Regions from separate parts of the Homo sapiens genome. Here regions 2 and 3 are each linked to region 1. Evidence: promoter capture Hi-C in 16 types of primary human blood cells and fetal thymus (Javierre and others, 2016). All regions are on one chromosome and are shown on one strand. Each heading gives the region's core, a stretch centred on a gene start or on the middle of the fragment in contact. The rest is flanking DNA. Distances are from core to core; before and after follow the strand shown.

Region 1 (4,246 bases), core at 150-2,649:
AGCCTGTAAGTAACAGAGGAAATCGAACAGAGGATGAAGAGAAATGGCCGATGGGACATCAGATCACAAGAGTAACTGCAACCTCATTTCTAGAAGACCAAAAGGCCCGGTTATCAAAGTACAGCTCTAAAAATCTCTATCAGACACCTTTCGCATCCACACAGATCTCCATCTGCGTCCCTTATTCATAAATCTTTTTAAAGCAAACCTCACGCCTATCCCTCGGGCCTGCTTATCCAAAACTCAACCAATCTATACCATGACTCCTCTTGGTGAAAGGCAGATTGAAGGGAGGTGGAAAGGGCTGGAAGGAATGTCATGGGAGAGGCGGCACGTGCAAATAACATTGCGGCAGAGACACTGAAAACGCCACTTCCCTTGCCACTGTTGCAATTCTCTTCGTGTATCATCCTCTTACCCTCTCTACCCATGCCACCTCCTACCTCAACGATACACACACGTGTCACAGCCGACCAGCACCATCGCCTTTTCCAGCATCACAGGTTCCCCTACCACCCCTCACTATCCCCCCACATAGGCAGGCAGACACACACACACACACACACACACACACACACACACACACACACGAGAAACTGCAGCCACCGCACCCTCCTATCTCGATAAGTGCTCCTGCCAACAGACATCCAGAGCGGACTGAAAGCTCAATAAATGCGCAGGTACACACACGCAAGCACACACACACGCGGGTGCACGCGCGGCATGGGGCGCAAGGAAGGGCGGCATGGGGCGCAAGGAAGGGCACCCTGGGGACGCACCTGGAGGCTGGGTGTCCAGCGCTGCCGCCCCCCTGGTCCCTGTCATTGAGCGCAGCGGTATAAATCCTCCGGTAGCGGTCGGCCAGGGCCCGGCCTGACAGCAGCAGCTGGTAGTGACCCCGGGAGTCCGCGGCGGGTAGCCCCAGCCCCAGCCCCGCAGCAGCCACGGAGCCGTCGGGAACCGGCATGAACAGCGCCCCCGGCGCCGGGGAGGAAGAGAAGGTGGCGGCTGGGTAGAATCCGTCCCCGCCGAGCCCCGAGGAGGCGGCGGCGGGGGAGGCAGTCGCTGCGCACATCATCATCCTCGCCGCCGCCGCCGCCGCCGCCGCCTCGTCCCCGCGGGCCGGGCGGGCAGACACGCGCGCGCACACACAGCCCTTTTCCAACGACGACGGCTCCGGCGGCGGCCTCTGGCTCCCGCAGCAGGGAGACTACAAAGACAGCGACCTCCTTCTCCTCCTCCTTCTTCTCCTCCTCCCCCCCGCGCCGCCCTCGCCGCTACTGGGGCCGCTCATCTAACCCCGCCACCCCGGGAATGTGAGGAGGAGGCGGTGCCGCCACTGCCGCCGCCACCACCGCTACCACCGCCACCACCGCCGGGGCTACCCGCAATGGGAAGCTGCCGGCCTCACAGAGCATGCGCCACTCCTCGCACATGCTCAGTAACTGCCGCCCCTTTTCCTCCCCACCCCCTCTCCGCCACCACTCCCTCCGCCTCGGGGCTTTGGGTTTGGGGCTGTTGGGTTGTGCGGAATCTGAAGTAGTCCACTTCTCCGGGTTTTACTGGCAGCTTGAAGAAGAGTAAGGAAAGTGCTGGGGAGGCTGTCAGCTACTGACGTTCGACTTCAGGTTCCCTCCAGGTGGAAGAACGAGGACCAGAAAGCAAGGGGGAACGTGCCCATCGCCAGAGGAGGAGTGGCACGCTCTTCTGCTACCTCTTCTCCAAGGCTCTGCTGCCAACAGGAAGATTTACTGTGAATTGTGCTGGTTAATTCAGAGTTTAAGGCAGAGAAAACCATCCCAATTAGAAGTGCCTTTAGCGATCTTATTTTATATGGTTTTTGTCATTAGGATTTACGCTTGTTTAACACAGCTTTTACTTACAAAGACAGGTAGTAATCTAGCACATTCTTTTTTGTGTGTGAAAGTATTTTGTGTGTGAAAGTATAACAGATAGGCTAGTATTCACAAGCCAGAGTCATTCCCAAATTCTTGTTCTCAACGGAGCAATAATATTTTTTAAATTACTCTTTTTTATTGACTCCTCACTCACCTAAGAGTGCACTTTTATCTCTTGGCAGTGGTCATTTAATGGTTTATTTTTTTCTGCCCAAACTTACATTTTTAAAGATAATTCTTGAATGCGATCTGAAACAATAATTGTGACGGAGACTGTATAGCGTCTGAAAATGTCAGATCCATCACATATCTTGTTGTTGTCTATAAAAAAGTAACATTTGCTCAGTCCTTTGTTCCAAGCTAACCTACGAACCCCATCTAAGTATATGCTCTAGAAATATACGTGCCAATGCACTTTGATTCCTACTACGTTTTATCCTTTGACTCTCAATTTGAAGAGTTTCCTAATTTACAGTCCTGACAAAATAATTTATAAGTTCTGTCATCCCAGTACTGTATCTTTCATCTATGTACTAGTTCTTATATCTGTGCCTCTTCTTCGGATGGCCTTCTCTTAAAAAAAAATAAAATAAATGTTAAAAAATCCTCCTTAGTGTTTGAGAAGTGCAAACAACAAGGAATAGGAAAGTAAATTAATTCTAGTTTTAGGGTGGAAGGTTGCTGAAAGCAATGCATTTTTTTCTGAAGCTTTAAATAATGGATGGATTTCATTTAGTTTTTTTAAAGATAATTAGCAGTGGGATAAACATAGGAACAAAGGACAAGACATGTGGAATCATAGTATTTTAGTACTGTAATTAGCCCTGTTAAGTTTTTGTATTTGTCTTGTTTCCTTACCTAAGTTCCTTCAGAGCTTGCTGCTTTTGTGTCTCCTTCAGCCACTTCAGGACTTTGCATGTAGTAGGTATCCAGTAAGTATTTATTAGACTAAATTTCTATCCTAATGCTTCAGCACAGTTAAAGACCTCAGTGTTGACCAGGCAGCCCCTAACCCTGGAGTGAGAACCAAGACAATGGTGTAGAGGCAGCTAAATTCTAAGAATTCTAAGGCCTGACAGGTAAGCAATGAGAGGGCCCATTACTATTGCAAGACCTAGCAGGGTAGCTAAAAGGCTCTGAAATCAGACAGCCCTGGAATTGGATCCTGACTCTGCTACTTAATACTTGTCTGGCTTTGGGCAAATTATCTCCTCTGAATAATGCTCAAAAGAATACCCACTACATGAGATTGAGGGAGGACTTAAAGGATCTAGGATGTCCAACTTGGCACATGAATTTTCACAAATGGTAGCACATACTAAACAAAACACTAGGTTTTCCGTAGGGTAGCAATGGTGTCTGTTCAACCATCACAGGCTCCTAGCACAGGGTCTAGCCCTGAACAGGAGGGAAATAGATGTTGGCTGAATGAATGAATGTTGCTTGCACAGAAAACATTTACAGCGCAGGCTCAGGTGGTGGAATGTGCAGTCACTGCCCATTTAGAGTTTCTAGTGGACATTGACCCGCGTGGCTGCCCTGGTCTCCGGGCTCTTCCCACCATTCATTAATTTCGCTTCAATCTTTACTGCTGTTCAGTCCCAGACAGGCCCCTACGGAGCCTGATGGGTACACTCAAAACCCGGAAACTGGATAACTTGCTAAGAAGCCCGATGTCATTGAGCTGCGCAACTAGGCGTGCGCAGAGTCGCACACATGCTCACTTAGGTATCCGAGAGTGGCATTTCTGTTGCGGTTGGCAGCGTTTCCTTCCACGGCAGCGGCAGCGGTCGCTCTCCTCAAAATTGATAGCCAGTGCAGCGTTTTTTCTCCTCCTCCTCCTCTTCCTGCCTCCGCACGGCGCGCTCCCCGGTCCCTGCAACTGCCACAGCTACCGCCTTGGCAGCTGGGCAACTTGGAAGGCTCCCCTGGGATGGCGGGGGAGTGGGGCGCATGCCAGAAAGAAAAAGGCATTTGGAGTCACCCTTACTTCTACTGTCAAGGGGACGTGAAGGAGAGTGTGGTCACAAGTCGCGAGGGTCGCCTGAACCGTCGCTGCAGATCGGAGACGTGGGTTTCTGGCAGTATGCAAAGCAAGCGTCCCCTCCCGCCGCTCCTGCGAGCTCTACTACCGAATGCCTTACGCAGCCCTTGTGTTTGGGGAAAGAGGGGGACCTATACAGAATGAAAAAACACAGAGGGCTTTGCTTTTCTTTCCCCACCCCACCGAGCTCGGCCCCCGTGCTTTCTGCGCTGCCATCTTAGTTCCTCCAGCGGCCGGGCTGGGCGTGTGTGCATTTGTGTGTACAGGGAGGGCTGCAGCCGGGGGGCGTGGGGGCCGCCTGGGC
Region 2 (4,101 bases), core at 471-2,970, 4.5 Mb before region 1:
TACCATTAAGTGTTCATAATATATAAAATATCATCTTTATTTTAGTGTATAAGGAATTTATTTATATACTTGCCTCTTTATTTTCTTCATTGTCGCCATGAATCCATACTGTAGCTTCCAAGTAATTTTCCCTGCTAGCTCTAAATGTTCCTTGAAGGTATGTACCAGATTTTATGCCTTGCTGTAGCTTACTTAAGGGAAGATGCTCTGAAAATATTATTTTTCCACTTTCTATTTCATTCTATGAAAGAAGCAAACCAAAAGATGCCGCTAATAAGTCTTCTGTTCACTCAATACACAACTATTATTAATATCAGAGAATTTTTGAAATCTACATTATGATATACACAACTCTGAATAGGAGAGAAGATAGCAGTGTTTCTTATAGGCCAGTGCTAACAAAAACAGCTTTCTATGATGAAGGAAGTATTCATTTTGCGATCTCTAATATGGTAGCCACTAGACACAAGTTTCTCTTGGGCACTTGAAAGACAGATAGTACCACCAAGAAACTGAATTTTTAATACATATTAAATTTAAATAGTCATATATAACTAAGTGGCTACATATTAGGGCAATACTAAATCTGTATTTCAAAAATCAAACCCAACTTTTATCTTCTCATTTCCTTTTGGTTTCATAAAGTATCATAAAGGTAAGAAGGGATGACAGAAGTGTAAAGACTGGATTTATGTATAATGTCCTATCACTTAAAACCTATTTCTATAACAAGGGCTACCATTTATATTTACCATACCTATGTGCCAGGCACTAGGATGAAAATTGTATTAATGCTACAGTTATCATCTTATTTGATCCTTATAACAACACTATGAAGTTATTATTGCTAAACATTATATATTTATATATAAGAAAATGAATGCTCAGAATTTAATTATTCCCTTAGCACTCCTTCTCACATCAGCTATTGTAATGACTCCTTTACTCACCTCTCTGCCTCTAATCTTTCCTGGATAAAATGCTTAATGTTACACACTGACATGAGAGTGGTCTTACAAACAAATACCATTTCCAATCATTCTCTCCTGCTCCACCAATCCACATTCATATACCATTACTTTTTCTTAGCCTGACATATAAGGAAGGGATCTCAGAATCCTTTCCTCTTCATAGCAGCCCTTCAGGGAGATCTTTATAAATCAATTGAAAAATTACTAACCTACAGAATAAGTTCTAGGTCTTTACTATCTGGACACTCCCCTCCCTCTTCTTTCCTCTGTCTGCAGTGCCTGCCACTTCATTTGTCAGCAGCTACTCTTTATTCACAAATCAGCCATGGACTCCGTTCATTTTTTCCTCAACCAAACAGTGCTACCAGGTACCAGGCCCTACTCAGGTTAATGGGAATATATCTATTTTAGAAAGTTAACTCCTTTAGGAATGGCATTTCAATAAGCCTATGACATCCACTCCTGTTTATAACACAACTATTCCAAATCCAGCTTACCCACCGACATTCCAATTTTTAAATTTGGTAACTATATGCCTAATATTCCAAAGTGGCTATTTTAATATTTTTACTTTTCAAAAACAAAACAAAAACATACCCCTTCTTCAGACAAACAAGCAAGACGATCTATGAGTTCGGGGTTAGCAGTTAGGCTCTTTACATATTCTTCACCTGAAAAAATAAGTTTATGTTGTTTTTGATAAGTGTTTTTTCCTTAGATATGAAAAAAATGGATAGTCTTGTTTGCGACAGTATACACGTCATTCTTTCATTCATTGAGACACACTGAGAGTCTCACTCTGTCTCTCAGGCTGGAGTGCAGCGGCGCAATTACACATCACTACAGCCTAGAATCCCTGGGCTCAAGCTACCTTCCTGCCTTAGCCTCCCGAGTAGCTGGGACTATAGTTACATACTACCATGCACGGCTTTTTTTTTTTTTCCTGTAGAGCTATAGTCTCCCTATGTTGCCCAGGCTGGTCCTGAACTCCTGGTCTCAAGCAAGCCTCTTGCCCTGACCTCCCAAAGTGCTGGGATTACAGCACCTGGCCTCAATTTATTTAAAAAACAAAACCCAAAAATCTGTTGATGTGATCATACCTAAGCAGAAGCAGGGGTTCCAGTATATTTATGAGATTTCATTGCTAAACCAGTTGCAAATAGTGAGGGGAAAATTAACAGCCACTGGGCACAACATATTTAGGTTAAAAACTATGTGAAATTTAAAAATACAAAAATATCACATGAAGTTATATAGGACTACGAAAATACTAAATAGTAAAGTGAACATCTGACTATAGGCCTAATGATTATTTTTACACGCATTTGCAAACATGCACTAAGTACTTCTACATTTAGACTTACAAGTGAAAGCTGGTATTCCTTCTTCTATGGCTTTCTCTTTGTTTCTCCTGTCATTTGTTATGAAGATAACTTGCAGCTGGTTGTCTGCTGACATTTTTTTCAAATGTTCATTGTACCATTTTGCTGCTACTCGAATCGCTCTATCATTCCTGTCATTAGCATTTTCTCCCTGTTCTTGTTCTACATAGGTTTCTCTAAATGGAAAGAAAAAACGAAATAAAAGGAAATCAGTAGAAACAAGGATATGTGAAAACTCTTAGCACATAAATGCTTAACCACTAAACTAGAAAAAGTCAATGGTATATCTTTTCTCTTGAATGTATTCAGATGTACACCTCAGAGAAGAAATCAAGATTCTTATAATTAAGTTTTTAAGAAACAATTTGCTTGGAAAAGAAGAAAATTATGTTATTAAGGGGACAAGAAAAAGGCTAATACAATTTTATTTCCTAAAAAGAAAAATTCAAGATCAGAATTTATACTTTAGGTTGAGACACTAAATAATAGTTTGTTGACAAATTATAATACAATTTCACAGGTATGATAATCAGATTTCATTCAAACTGTAGGTTAATAGCAATTCCTAAAAGCTACAAATAGTATAATTAGATCATTTATAATCAGAATTCTACAGTCATTAATAAATAATGCATATAAATTATCCATGGTAAACACTAATAGCTGAAGCTATGTAGAGACTGAAAAGTCAGGTATATTAATAGATATTACGTATTTCTTCTATCTAAACTCCCAAGTATGTCAACACATTCATCTATTTCTTTAAATCTGTTCATCAAAGCCAGGTTTAAGTACAACAGCAAAGTTCACTACAATAGCTTCCAGTACTTAATGGTAATAGATTCAATTTAATAATTTGATTTATATTAATAGTTTTAGAATTATTTTATTCCTCATCGTTGAATGCACTTGCTAATGCTTTTTTTTTTTTTTTGAAACAGAGTCTTGCTCTGTAGCTCAGGCTGGAGTGCAGTGGCATGATCTCAGCTTACTGCAACCTCTACCTCCGGGTTCAAGTGATCCTCCCAACTCAGCCTCGCAAGTAGCTGGGACTAGAGGCATGTACCACCATAACCAGCTAATTTTTGTATTTTTAAGAGACAGGGATTTTCCAGGTTGGCTAAGCTGGTCTGGAACTCCTGGCCTCAAGTGATCTGCCCACCTCAACCTCCCAAAGTGCCAGGATTACAGACATAAGCCACCACGCCCAGCTGCTAATGTTTTAAGCTCATCAGTGAAAGACACAGTCATAAATTTTTGAATTGGTTTTAAACTTGGGTCTTTCTGCACTGAAAAACAAGTGATGTTGCTATTTCTGGATTTCAAGGAGGTACTAACAATAAGAAGCCTACAAGGGCTTTACTGGTATTCTTTACAAGAACATTGAAGTTTGAGATATAAGAATCAAGAAAGTTGAGATATTAAGGTTTTTAAAAATGTGCATAATCTGATGGAATTTCATTACCAGAAGTCTACACTCTAATCCAATGGTTCTCAATTGAGTGAATTCACCCCTCAGGGCATTTTGTATCATTACAACTGAGTGGTGGTGGTGGTGGTGGTGGTGGGGGGGGTAAGGGGTGGTGATCCTGCCAAATAGGCTAGGAACACTGTTAAACATACTACAATGTATAAAACAGCCTTTCCACCACAAAAAAATTATTCAGTTCAAAATATCTATAATGCCAAGATTGAGAAGCCCTGATCTAATCCAATAAAAGTACCATACTCATCATAGATTATTTATG
Region 3 (4,383 bases), core at 1,573-4,072, 4.6 Mb before region 1:
AAAAAAAAAAAAAAAAAAATACAAAAATTAGCTGGGTGTGGTGGCGGGTGCCTGTAATCCCAGCTACTCAGGAGGCTGAGGCAGGAGAATCGCTTGAACCGGGGAGGTGGAGGTTGCAGTGAGCTGAGATTACACCAGTGCACTCCAGCCTCGGTGACAGAACGAGACTCTGTCTTAAACAAAGAGAGAGAGAGATACAATTAAGTCAGTTGATCGAATGTGATATGATTACCCTTTGCCATTTAATTTCATGGTAAAGTCAAATTTTAAAATACAAGCTTTAAAATATTTTCATATTATAACCATTCATATTATTTCTCACATAGGTTAGCATTTTGATGAACTATTTTAGTTTGCCTTTACTCATAAGCTCACTTTCTTTTGTTAAGACTCCAGGGAAATTTAGATGGTCTATTGATCAACTAGCTGTAATAAATCCTGTAGAAATAGACCCAGAAGATATTCATCGTCAAGCTTTATACTTAAGTCATTCTCGGTAAGTTTTCCTTTCTTGCACCTAAGTCTAATAACACTCTCAAGTGAAGAGAGGTAGGAAATTCTAAATGTTGAGTATTTTTCTATGTAAAGGTATCAGGGAGAAAAAATTTTGATGCAGATTTTTTCTATCTAAATGAATGAGTTCAAAGAACTACATTCAGAAAGATTTTCTTGCCAACAGTTCCAGACCTGAGTAGATACCTTTTTCTTTTACAAGTAACCTTTTCCCTCTGCTACTGAGGTGACAGCTCTGTACCCCTAGCACTCAGTTAAGAGAAGAACATTTTGAAATTTGCACTTTTCTACATGGTTGTGGCTTCTGCCATTAACTTGTTTCAGTTTGTCTTTTTGATGATTTGGGGTAAAGCAAAATGCTGTTTCATTGTTATCTATGTTTGGGGAAACCTAAAACCCCCTCAAAGAGTTACGTATGCACTGAATGGAAGGGTATCCATTAGCAACAGAGCGGTTTTTTAGACATCATCCAACTGTAACAATTCACTTGGAATCTGAATTACATTTTCTAGAATTCTACATATCACCCAGTGCAGTCTTATTTGTTGATGTGTTGTTTAGGTTTCAAGGCACTAATGTACTGCAGATTTAGTTTTTTATTACAAAGTGTAAGGTCCTATTATTCTTTTGTAGTTTTAGGGACTCTTGTTTATATGTTTTATAGTCTGATTTTTTAATATTTGAAAAAAATCAAATACATGGTATGACCAGATTTTAATTTGCTGTCCTAAGGTAGACATGTTGTTAGTCCAAAACAAAGGATAATCCTTTTCCCTTTGACTTAAGAATTCAGTCACACAACGTTGCACACATATTGAGATATTCTGGTAAATACTTACTGGCTTTTCTCCTCCATCTTCTCTTTGCTTGGTAACATGATGACCATTCAATCATAAAATTAATGTCCACCCAGAGTGTTAATAGGAAGGGAATAGAATGAGGATGAAGCATGAAAGGATTTTAACTTAAATTTAAATAATACCTTTGAGGCCAGGTGTGGTGGCTCACACCTGTAATCCCAGCATTTTGGGAGGCTGAGGCGGGCAGATCACTTGAGGTCATGAGTTCAAGACCAGGCTGGCCAACATAGTGAAACCCCATCTCTACTAAACATACAAAAACATTAGCCGGGCATGGTGGTGCACACCTGTAATCCCAGCTACTCGGGAGGCCGAGACAGGAGAATCGCTTGAACCCAGGAGGCAAAGGTTGCAGTGAGCTGAGATCATGCCATTGCACTCTAGCCTGGGGGACAGAGCAAGACTCCATCTCAAAAAAATAAAATAAATAAATAAGTAAATAAATAATACCTTTGAAAGAGAAGGTGAGATGAATATCTAAAAGCAAATGAGTCACAGTGACTAATTTTTTGTTTCACACGAACTTAATTATGCTTAATTATTTTGTCTCATTTCTTCAATATATTGAATGATGGACAATTATTATATTGATCAGTCAAGAGATACTTATTGAGTACTGTGAGGGACTGTAAGAAACACTGAAGAAGTACAAGATACTAAGAGTCAAGAGTCAAAAATATAATTAGACCAAAGTTGTAACACAGTGCTTCTGTTCTTACTACTAAATGATATATTGTCTGCAAAGGTTTATAAAGATAATCTTGGTGTCTCTTAGTACATAGATTTATCATATAGAAGAATGGAAAAGAGTGGGAAAATATTATAATTTAATTTAATAATATAATTCAATGAATGGTTATGGCTTCTACCAAGGATAGTCAATATATTCTTCACAGAGCATCTCGTTTCATCCTTAGAAACAAGCAGTGTCTTTCAGTATCTCTTCTTACATATTAGCCCTCTACTTCAATTCTTCCCATCCTTTTCATGCCACCATCCACACAGAAAATTGTAACTGAAAAGCATACCAGTGTAAGCAGGTGAGTCTTGGCCATGTAGGTGACCAGTCCTGAGGTCCCCTCTCCTTTGCCACCCTGCAAAGGCTCAACATTCAGGCCACACCTATACCTATATGCATCATACTGGTGTTCAGTGGTATGCTGGTCAGGATGCTCTCCCCTGTATGACTTCTTAGAATCTTGTTTGATCTGACTCTAGAGTATTTGGCCACAGTGATTTTTACAGTTTCCAGCAATCACCTGAGTATTTCATGTTCTTGAAGTCCCTCTGATGAAGTAGCAAAAGGTTTCTGAATGCAGTAATCCTAGTTCAGAGCTTACTTGCTATTTGCTAAGCTTGTTATGTGCTGCCATTTTGACCATGATAAGATGAAGAGAACCATTGATAAGATGAAGGCCATTTTGTTATCCTCAAAATGGCTACTGTTCAAGCTGGGATATGTGGGTTGACACTGTAGTTTATTTTCTCATACTTCTCCCACTTGAAAAATCTACTTAATTTCTGAAATGTATACATTCTCATATAAGCTTTATTAAGCCATGAGCAAGTCTATATGTGAAAAAAATTCACACCATGGAATACTATGCAGCCACAAAAAGCATGAGATCGCGTCCTTTGCATGGACATGGATGCAGCTGGAGGCCATTATTCTTAGCAAACTAATACAGGAACAGAAAACCAAACCCCTCATGTTCTCACTTATAAGTGGGAGCTAAATGATGAGAGCATGTGGACATATAGAGGGGAACAGCACACACTGGGGCCTGGTGGAGGGTGAGAGGAGGGAGATCAGGAAAAATAACTGATGGATTCTAGACTTAATACCTGGATGATTAAATAATCTGTACAACAAACCCCAGTGACACAAGTTACCTGTGTAACCTGCATTTGTACCCCTGAACTTAAAATAAAAGTTAAAGAAAAAATTCTGAGACAAAATAATTTTAAATTGTAAAAAAAAATATGTCTTACCAATTTACTGATGGAAGGCAAGGATTCTTTCCTGTAATGGAATAAAGAAGTGGTCCTAGAAAGCTAACTGCTGAGTCCTTGGCAAGTATATGCTTTGTGCTTGGACCCAAAATTTTATATTAAATCTTGTAGCTGAGAAGTTTATATAACAGTAATTGCAGATTGTATCAAAGTGAAAAAAAAATTCATTTGGAAAAAATGTTATATTGTCAGTGTTTTATTTCAGAGTTAATATTTTTGACTGTTTAGAACTGTGAACTATCCTCATCTATTTTACAGTAAAAGTTGATTCTAAAATTATTGCCATGATAAACTTGTTATAATTGAAGAGAAAAACTTTGGACAATTTTTAGATGTATGTTGAATTAAATACTTCTTAATTTGTATTAAGGGACAAAGTTTATCAAATTTATATTGTTAAAAGCAATTTAATATCAATGTAAGTCTTTTGAAATAAAGTATCATTGCATTCAAACTTTGAATGGAAAAGAGGGAGGTAAGCCTAACAGCTAACTGCTGAATTTCAGAATACTGCCTAAATGTTACTAAATGTTACAAGATACCACTAGTATTAATTATAAAGTGAGCTTAACATTTGCCAGTTTTCAATGAAGGGAGATTATTTATTTGAAAGGTTATTTTTTAAAATGTTCAATAAGCTTAAGTAATAGCATGGTTATTTTTCTTCTTTATCTTTGTATAGAATAGATAAAGATGTGGAAGACAAAAGACAAAAAGCCATTGAAGAGGTAACTTAAACTGTTACTGATCATTAAATCAGTTAAGGATCAATTCTGCATGTACATCACTTCTTTTAGGAAGACTTTCTTCAATTCCTTCACTGTCCTATCTCCCCTCCAAGCCCTTCACAGTCCCATCTATATAAAGCACCCTTCTGTACTGTCCTAAGACCAATAATTTCCAGCTATCCCAGTACCTTGCATAGCACTTGCATACTGTTGTAATGATCAGTTTAGTGTTTCTGTCCCCTAGACGCAATCTTTTTTGGCCAATACTG

Evidence for each region. The method cuts DNA at HindIII sites, captures the fragments that hold promoters and counts their contacts. A CHiCAGO score of 5 or more calls a contact.
Region 2: a fragment that was not itself captured here is called in contact with the fragment with the promoter of MYCBP2 in region 1 in 1 of 17 cell types (naive CD8 T cells); the score reaches 8.6 in naive CD8 T cells.
Region 3: a contact is called between a fragment that was not itself captured here and the fragment with the promoter of MYCBP2 in region 1, in 2 of 17 cell types (non-activated CD4 T cells and total CD4 T cells). The highest score is 8.4, in non-activated CD4 T cells.

What each region holds. Positions count from the first base shown.
Region 1 is chr13:77,325,695-77,329,940 of GRCh38, forward strand. MYCBP2 (MYC binding protein 2) reads right to left here and starts at 1,400. Exons shown (of 83, transcript NM_015057.5): 1 at 780-1,400. The coding sequence starts at 1,081. LOC127898562 reads right to left here and starts at 1,294. Exons shown (of 1, transcript NM_001414702.1): 1 at 1,211-1,294. The coding sequence starts at 1,294. The coding sequence ends at 1,211. It overlaps LOC107984564 (a long non-coding RNA gene), which reads left to right and starts at 1,351. Exons shown (of 2, transcript XR_001749930.2): 1 at 1,351-1,441; 2 at 1,570-2,504. RefSeq lists silencers at 820-939, 980-1,359 and enhancers at 1,550-1,879, 3,901-3,980. The HindIII fragment of the contact is 13,146 bases long and covers 1-2,604 here.
Region 2 is chr13:72,775,852-72,779,952 of GRCh38, forward strand. DIS3 (DIS3 exosome endoribonuclease and 3''-5'' exoribonuclease) reads right to left here. Exons shown (of 21, transcript NM_014953.5): 3 at 2,336-2,529; 4 at 1,569-1,642; 5 at 74-241. Among named protein-coding and RNA genes, the nearest start is that of DIS3, 4.0 kb to the right of the region's middle. The HindIII fragment of the contact is 7,790 bases long and covers 1-4,101 here.
Region 3 is chr13:72,730,892-72,735,274 of GRCh38, forward strand. It overlaps BORA (BORA aurora kinase A activator), which reads left to right. Exons shown (of 12, transcript NM_024808.5): 3 at 390-496; 4 at 4,069-4,114. Among named protein-coding and RNA genes, the nearest start is that of BORA, 5.2 kb to the left of the region's middle. The HindIII fragment of the contact is 192 bases long and covers 2,727-2,918 here.